2 separate regions of the Homo sapiens genome follow, and region 1 is linked to region 2. The links are contacts of gene promoters, found by promoter capture Hi-C in blood cells and fetal thymus (Javierre and others, 2016). All regions are on one chromosome and are shown on one strand. Each heading gives the region's core, a stretch centred on a gene start or on the middle of the fragment in contact. The rest is flanking DNA. Distances are from core to core; before and after follow the strand shown. Region 1 has its middle 35 kb from the start of DNAAF10. Region 2 holds the start of GKN2 (gastrokine 2).

Region 1 (3,984 bases), core at 644-3,143, 830 kb before region 2:
AGCTTTACGGAACAGATTGGAAAATTCACAACAAGCCCTAAGTGGCCCATAGTGGATTAGTGGGGACTGTGGCCGTCAGGACTCCCCCTTAGCTGAGGCTTCTGTGTCTTCTGTGTCTGCTTTCTTAGGGCCCTTTAGCCTGTGAGCTCTTAGGAATGCAGGAAGACCCTCTCTTTCCCCCTGGGTGGTAACAAAATTTCCCCTGGTCCATCATTCCTGAGCCCTAGTTCAGTCTGTGTGCGGCCAGGTCAGCGCTCAATAGGGTTCCAAACCTGTTGGCTGCAAGCACAGACTCCCTCTGAGTGTGAATGTTATCTCTCACCAGATGAGGGATGTGCTCAGCCCAGATCAAACACTTGTTTATCTACAGGGTGGTGAGAGCCAAAACTCTGCTTCTGTTTCTCCCTGGTGGTTTATTTGCTTACCCTTATCACCTCTGAGCAGTGGTGTTGTTTGCATAGAGTTCTCGGTTTCTGGCATGTTAAATTTAGAGGTACCCCAGGCTTCTCGGAGGGATCAGAGTGTTGAGCAACTCCTCAGGGAGGTGCAGGAGAATATCACTGGATGAGGGGTCAGGAGATGAGGGCCTGGGTCTGTCTTCAAATGCAGAAATTGAGTGCAGAGGTCTCAAAGGCCTCTTCTGGCACTGACGTTCTGACTGGCCATGAAAGCCTTGGGTGTCATAAAGAAGAAAAGTTGAAGACTTAAAAGGAGGAAGTGTGAGTGTCTTCAGCCTCCGGTGTGAGGGAGAACTGTGAGTCTCTTTTGACCACAGTTTATTTTGTGTTGCTTCTTTTAGCTGCATGGTCCATACGCCAAAGGTGGGCAGGTGGAGGGCTGCTACTCACTAACTTGGTAGTGCAGAAATGGCTTTTAAAAACAGTGGCTATATGGCTGCGCACGGTGGTTCATGCCTGTAATCCCAGCACTTTGGGAGGCCGAGGCAGGCGGATCACTCGAGGTCAGGAGTTCGAGACCAGCCTGATCAACATGGAGAAACCCCGTCTCTACTAAAAATACAAAAATTAGCCGGGCGTGGTGGTGGGCGCCTGTAATCTCAGCTACTTGGGAGGCTGAGTCAGGAGAATCGCTTGAACCCAGGAGGCGGAGGTTGCAGTGAGCTGAGATCGTGCCATTGCACTCCAGCCTGGGCAACAAGAGCAAAACTCTGTCTCAAACAAAACAAAACAAAACAAAACATTGGATCTGGTGCAAAGAAGATGGAGAGAAATTCTAGAATTCCTGCAGGAAGTTAAGTGATGGTATAAAGAAGTCCTTACTCTGAGAAATGCTTCGTTAAAATCAGAATTTACAGAATAAACGGTTGGTAGGAGATAGAGGCATGTACTATTTACTTTACAAAATAATTCCTCACTTTATAAAAAGCCAAATATTTTCTCTTGGAAGTTAGCCTTGTGATGCTACCAGTAAGACTGAATCTATAATAAAGCTAATGATCCAACTTTTGGTTAAAAAACCCATTCTGTAAAAAGAAGCATAGGCATGCTATGCAGTGTTGTTATATACAAAGTGGGTTTTCTTCATAAACACAATCACATTTTTGGAAGACATTTCTGTAAGATAATGTCTTTCTCAAGGTCCAGTTTGGCTTGCGTGCCTCCTGGGAATTAAACAGGATAGATTTTTCCAGCTGCATTTGAAAGACAAATTCCGTTTCCTTGTGTTGAAAGGTCTGCAATGCCCACATCTCCCACAAGGGGGCAGCGCACCACTGGGTCTTCAGGTACAAGGACGGCCTGGGATTCGGAACGTGCGGCTGAGGGGCCTCCTTCCCAGGGGAAGAAAATCCACTGAAAGTCGTGAAGAGGCGGACCTTATGTACCACGACATAATTGAATTTCATATCTCACGAACCCTGCGTATTTGCCAGAAACTTTCGGGCTGTTCTCATTCAGAAAAGGATGAAATCATTTTGTGTGTTGGATAGTCCTTAGACATTCCCAGAAAAAAAATTATTTTTCATGTATATATGCAAAGTGTATCCAGCTAAATCACAAGCAAAAGTGACTTTAAGCAGGTACCAAGACACGCCGGATCATAAAGACACTGTTCTCCCTTCAAGTTCCTTTGGTGAGTTTATGGACACGCATGAGGTAAGCTGCGCCGTTCATGTTCTACTGCGCGTGACTTTGTACTGCCCCTGAGTGGAAAAGGTATTTGGGATTCGAAAGAAGTTATTATTAAGTACAAACAAATTCCCAAGAAAAGAAATGTAGTATGAAGATCAATTTGAGTGTGTAGGGGGAGTTTTCCTTTCCTGTTTTTGTACTGGGCTGGGCTTGCATTGGTGCACATAAAGGATAATAAAAGTAACTTAAAAAACCAAGGGATTCCATGGTGTCTGGTTTACAAGAGCTGATGGAGAAGATACAATTGCCAAAAGGGAGTATTGGGTGCCAAGACCCAGATCTGGCCTAAGGAAGCACGCATTGGTAGCGCCCTAGTTTTCACCTCATGGGAGGACGCAGCCAGGGAGGCCGTGCTTGACGGCTCTGTCAGGGCGGCAGAATCCAGTTACACCTCCCAACATCCATTTCCCTACTTCCTCAGGACCAGAACTCCCAAATGGTAGCCGGGTATAACACTGCACACAATCAGGTTTATGCTTCTCGGTCTCACTGTGATAGGTGAGACCGAGACACAGGACCAAATCATCACCAATGGATACAAGCAAAAGTGCTCTTCAAAGTGCAAGATGTTCTTTTTCTTACTTTTCCTACTTTTCTGATGTCTGGAATGTGGATGTGATGGTTCAACTGGAACAGGCACACTGGATAATGCGTAATCTTTATTTTGGGTTTTCAGTTACCCGCAGCTGAACCTAACCCTAATCAACAACAATGCCTTCAAAAAACAGGCCAGAGGTTAAGATGGACTTTTTTTTCCTAATTACTTGTTTTATCATTATTTTATCATTTTAATCACCCACCAACATTTGCTTTTATTTATTTATTTATTTTTGAGACAGGGTCTCTCATTTTCCCCAGGCTGGAGTGCAGTAACACAGTCACCACTCACTGCAGCTTCAACCTCCTTGGCTCAAGTGATCCTCCTGCCTCAGCCTCCCAAGCAGCTGGGACTATAAGCTGTGCTACCACACCCAGCTAATTTAAAAAAAAAATTTTCTGTAGAGACAGTGTCTCACTATGTTGCCCAGGCTGGTCTTGAACTCCTGGCCTCCCAAAGTGCTAGGATTACAAGCGTAAGCCACTGCGCCTGGCCCAACATTTATTAAATGTTGTATTAAGGGGCCAGGGGCAGTGGCTCATGCCTATAATCCCAGCACTTTGGGAGGCCGAGGCAGGCAGATCACTTGAGGTGAGGAGTTTGAGACCAGCCTGGCCAACATGGCGAAACCCCATCCCTACTAAAAATAAAAAAAATTAACTGCGCGTGGTGGCACATGCCTGTAATCCCAGCTACTTGGGAGGCTGAGGTGGGAGAAGTGCTTGAACCCAGGAGGCGGAGGTTACAGTGAGCCAAGATCACGCCACTGCACTCTTCCTGGGTGACAGAGCAAGACTCAGTCTCAATTAAAATAAAAAAGTGTTGTATAAAGGGTATTGCTGAGTGATCTGGTTTTAAGTTGGCTTAGGGATAGAGTTGGATCAGAACACCATAAGCAAAGTTCAGTTGTTAAAGAATCCTTCATAAAATTCCTCCACCATGACTGTATAAATGCAGCTGTACTTGGTCACAGCCCTTTTACCTAGAATCTCATGCTTCAAGTTAAAAACACAAAGTCAAAATCCTGTTCCTTCATTCAAGCTTGATGTTTGATGTAAAATATACAAAACCTATGGACAACTGCATTAATGGCCATGCACTGTGAGGATAATCTGCATCTGCTTTCACTGTGCTGTCCTGATTAATAACCATTTTTCTGGTTCTGGGGTTGAGGACAAGGGTTTAGCCTCTAGATCCCTACACAGTAACAAAGATTCACAGTTTTCATACTGCCAT
Region 2 (3,669 bases), core at 730-3,229:
TTGATTGGCTCACACATTGGCTCATTTAACAGGCATTTGTTGAGTTCATTCTATTTGCCAGACACAGGGTGCTACAATTGCCACCTAATTCCCAACTCTTTCTAGCATTATAACCATGTAGATAGTAGGAGAAACCCGGGGCAGATGAGCAGTGAAGGATTCATTTCACTATGGAAATACTCTGGTATGATTCACACTAGCTTTGGATAACAGTGGTCAAATTGTGTCCTCTAAAAAAATAATTAATTAATTAATTAATTTTAAAAAACTTTAATCCCTTAAGACTGAGAGGGTAATACAGATTTAAAATGAATCATGGGTGATAAAGACCTGACAGGTTCCTAAGGGAAACTATGAAAATAGAATGCTTGGGAGCACAATTAACTTTTGAGGCTGACATCAAGTAAAACCCCCATATTCTCCTATGCCTTAGTGATACTATCACACAAGTGCTGGGCCCACAGGTCGTGAGCTGACATTGAAGCAGTTCTGATATTTTGCTGTAGTTCTGTAAGAGTCTGTTCCAACATGCTAACCCAGGTTTTGTACCCTCTCTTCTGAACATCAGTGAACTGTACTATCGCTGAAAACTACATCAGTACATAGTTGACTGCACTGTCATTTGAAAACTGCTGATGAAAGGAGTCTTGGGGAAGGGGGATATTTTTAAGAACTGTCAGTGGGACTTTCCTACTTCCCTTTCCATCCCACCCTTAATATTTCTCTTCTGGGGACTGGGAGTAGAGCATCTAACAAAGACCTGTGTGCTGATATTCAGCCTTCCATAGGGATACATCTTCTCTTACCACAGACCAGCTCCAGCAACATATGATACTCCCGTATATTCTAGTTAATGAGTCTAAAATAGTGGTTTGAACAAGTAGTCGAAGGACTAAACCACTTTAATGGTATGATTAGAGAGAGCTTGGGGAGTGTCCTCTGCCCCAAAATGATCTCCCTTCCAACACTGTGGTTAATACACCATGGTTATATAATACTTTTGTGCTTCAGGGTTAGGTCTCAATTTGGAAAATCAAGACAGCCCTGAGAGAGGGAGCTCTTTAAGCTGATAGTCTTTAACACTTTAGAAAGAGGTACTTAACATTTTGCTTTCTCCCTTAGCAGCTGAATGAGAATAAAGGACAGAGACTAGGGGAGCGAATTCCATTCTAGGTCAGAACATAGCCCACTGTCCATGGGGCACTGCAATGTGGAACTACGGAGGCTGGGATCAGATGGAGGGGTGGAGTGGCCATAGAAGGAACGTTTTGTCCTAAGGGAGAATTTAGTCATAATGAGAGGACATTGAAGACACTCTGGCTGCTTAAATTTGCCATGATTGCGCCTGCAAGTGGGGATTCAGATGGATAAATTACATTCTAAATCCCACATTTACGGGCTTGGGAAAATCACATTCCTCTGCCTCTCAGTCTCCTTATCTGTAAAACGGGGAGAATACTACTCAACTCATAGGGTTGTTGCAATGAATAGATGAAATTATTCATGTGATATGCTTAGTCTAAGGCTTAGTATGCATTTGAGAAATGAGAGGTACTATTATTACTATTACTGATATTATTTTTAAACTACAGCTTCTCTCTTAGATAGCAAATGTAGTTGTTTTAAATAGCCCAAATTCCCTATGAAGCTCATAATAAAGGATTATTATTAAACATCCTCCAAATCAAAATTATCTAGAGATTTCTTTGTATTTTTGAATTTTCTTTTAAGTAAACATCTCAAAACAGGAAAAGGACAAAAAAAGTCAGACTTATTCAACACTATTTCTGCCAAAGATGTCATTAATTCAATCACAGAAGCTTAGAAGCATGCACAGTATCTGTCTAAGACTCCCAAAATCCATGGCATATTAGATATGAGCATTGTCTGCAAGCAGTCACCACAAGAGTATCAAGAAGCAGAAACAAATACTCACAAGTATTTTCATTTTGCCTGGGAGAGGAAGGTGCTGGAGTAAGTAAAGCTGCCCTGTGCAGCTTCTATCCTTTATATGGGCTTGAAGATGTGGATATCTCTTTTTCAAATGATCACTTTGGAAAAGACCATGTCTATATCTCTGACACACCCTAGCAAACTCCTTTATCAGAATTGAGATCCAACCACATACCTGATATCAATGAAGTTCATTAGTCAGTAATGAAAATTCACCACTTGGTCACTCTGTAAATATTCCCTGCTATTTGTACTATGCTGCACTTGACATTTTAATTTCCACCCTTTAAAAATATTGCATGATGCTTGTTCTATGCATACATTTTATAGCTCTACAAGGACAAACTTCTAACATCTCCTCCTAAAGGAAGAGTGCTTCCTTAAGGCCTGAGTTGGGCCCCAACTCAATGTCTTTTCACCACTGTTCTGCTGGCTGAATTCTTCCACAGAGGGAACGGATATGAGACGGGGTGCCAAGACAGTGGCTGGGGAGGCCTGCTTGGAGAACAAACAGCCTAGGACTTTCTTCGTTCTTCCCTTTAGATTTGGTGTCAATTTCCAGAAATTAATGAGGAACAAGACTCAGAAAGCATTCTCCCCAATTACCAAGTTTAACCAAATTTTTACATTAAGCTTCGCCCAAAACTGCACAAAACTGTAAGTTAGAGACCTCTAGTTATCTTGCAGAGTATTAAGAAATTCTTAGATTGAAAAAAAAAAAAAAGAGAGAGAAAGAGAATAAAGTTTAATTTGTGTAATTTTTTTAACATGACAATTAGAAATGGCTAGTTAGTGTCAGGGTATAATCATGAACTCAGGAAGGGAAATTTAAAAACAAAACAAACAACAACAACAACAAAAACAATAAACTGCGGCTGGGCGCAGTGGCTCATGCCTGTAACCCCGGCAATTTGGGAGGCCAAGGCGGGCAGATCACCTGAGGTCAGAAGTTTGAGACCAGCCTGGACAACATGGTGAAACCCCGTCTCTACTATGGTGAAACCCCGTCTCTACTAAAAGTACAAAAAAATTAGCCAGGCGTGATGGTGCTCGCCTGTAGTCCCAGCTACTCAGGAGGCTGAGGCAGGAGAATTGCTTGAACCCGGGAGGCAGAGGTTGCAGTGAGCCAAGATCATGCCACTGCACTCCAGCCTGGGTGATAGAGCAAGATTCCATCTCAAAACAAAACAAAACAAAAAACCCCAGTAAATTGCAAAATTGTAAAATATTGAGAATCACCACAGTAAACAAAGAGATAACATAAATAATGGCCTTGTTCTATAGCTGAAACAACTTTCTAACTTTAGCAGCTTTAAACAAAAATGGGGTTCTCAAAAAGTAGACATCTGGGCAAGTTAAGGGTTACCTAGTTCACTGGAATCTCCCTACCCTGGCTGTTCAGTGGGGGTGGATGTAAAACACGCAGCTTTATTAAATCTTTCTCAGATAGTAGCTGCAGAAAGGATTACAGTTTTCTAAGGCACCTGCAAATTTTCTCTCATATCTGGCTTCAGAGACTCAAAAAAGCAAACCAGCAATGCCCATAGACATTAGGGCTAATGAAAGTATCACATGCTATCCTCTACCATGTCCCCCTCCCGTCCTCAGGAGTTCTGGTTCTATAGTCTAATAATGATTGTTGCTAGTGTTTGTAGAGCACTCAATATGTTTCAACACTTTCCAAACACTTCGGATATATTGATTCATCTGATTCTC

The links. The method cuts DNA at HindIII sites, captures the fragments that hold promoters and counts their contacts. A CHiCAGO score of 5 or more calls a contact.
Region 1: a fragment that was not itself captured here is called in contact with the fragment with the promoter of GKN2 in region 2 in 1 of 17 cell types (activated CD4 T cells); the score reaches 5.6 in activated CD4 T cells.

The regions. Positions count from the first base shown.
Region 1 is chr2:68,120,851-68,124,834 of GRCh38, forward strand. It overlaps the pseudogene PPIAP64. Among named protein-coding and RNA genes, the nearest start is that of DNAAF10, 35 kb to the right of the region's middle. RefSeq lists enhancers at 89-248, 479-648, 659-738, 1,587-1,881. The HindIII fragment of the contact is 3,787 bases long and covers 1-3,787 here.
Region 2 is chr2:68,950,914-68,954,582 of GRCh38, forward strand. It overlaps GKN2 (gastrokine 2), which reads right to left and starts at 1,980. Exons shown (of 6, transcript NM_182536.3): 1 at 1,937-1,980. The coding sequence starts at 1,948. The HindIII fragment of the contact is 766 bases long and covers 1,819-2,584 here.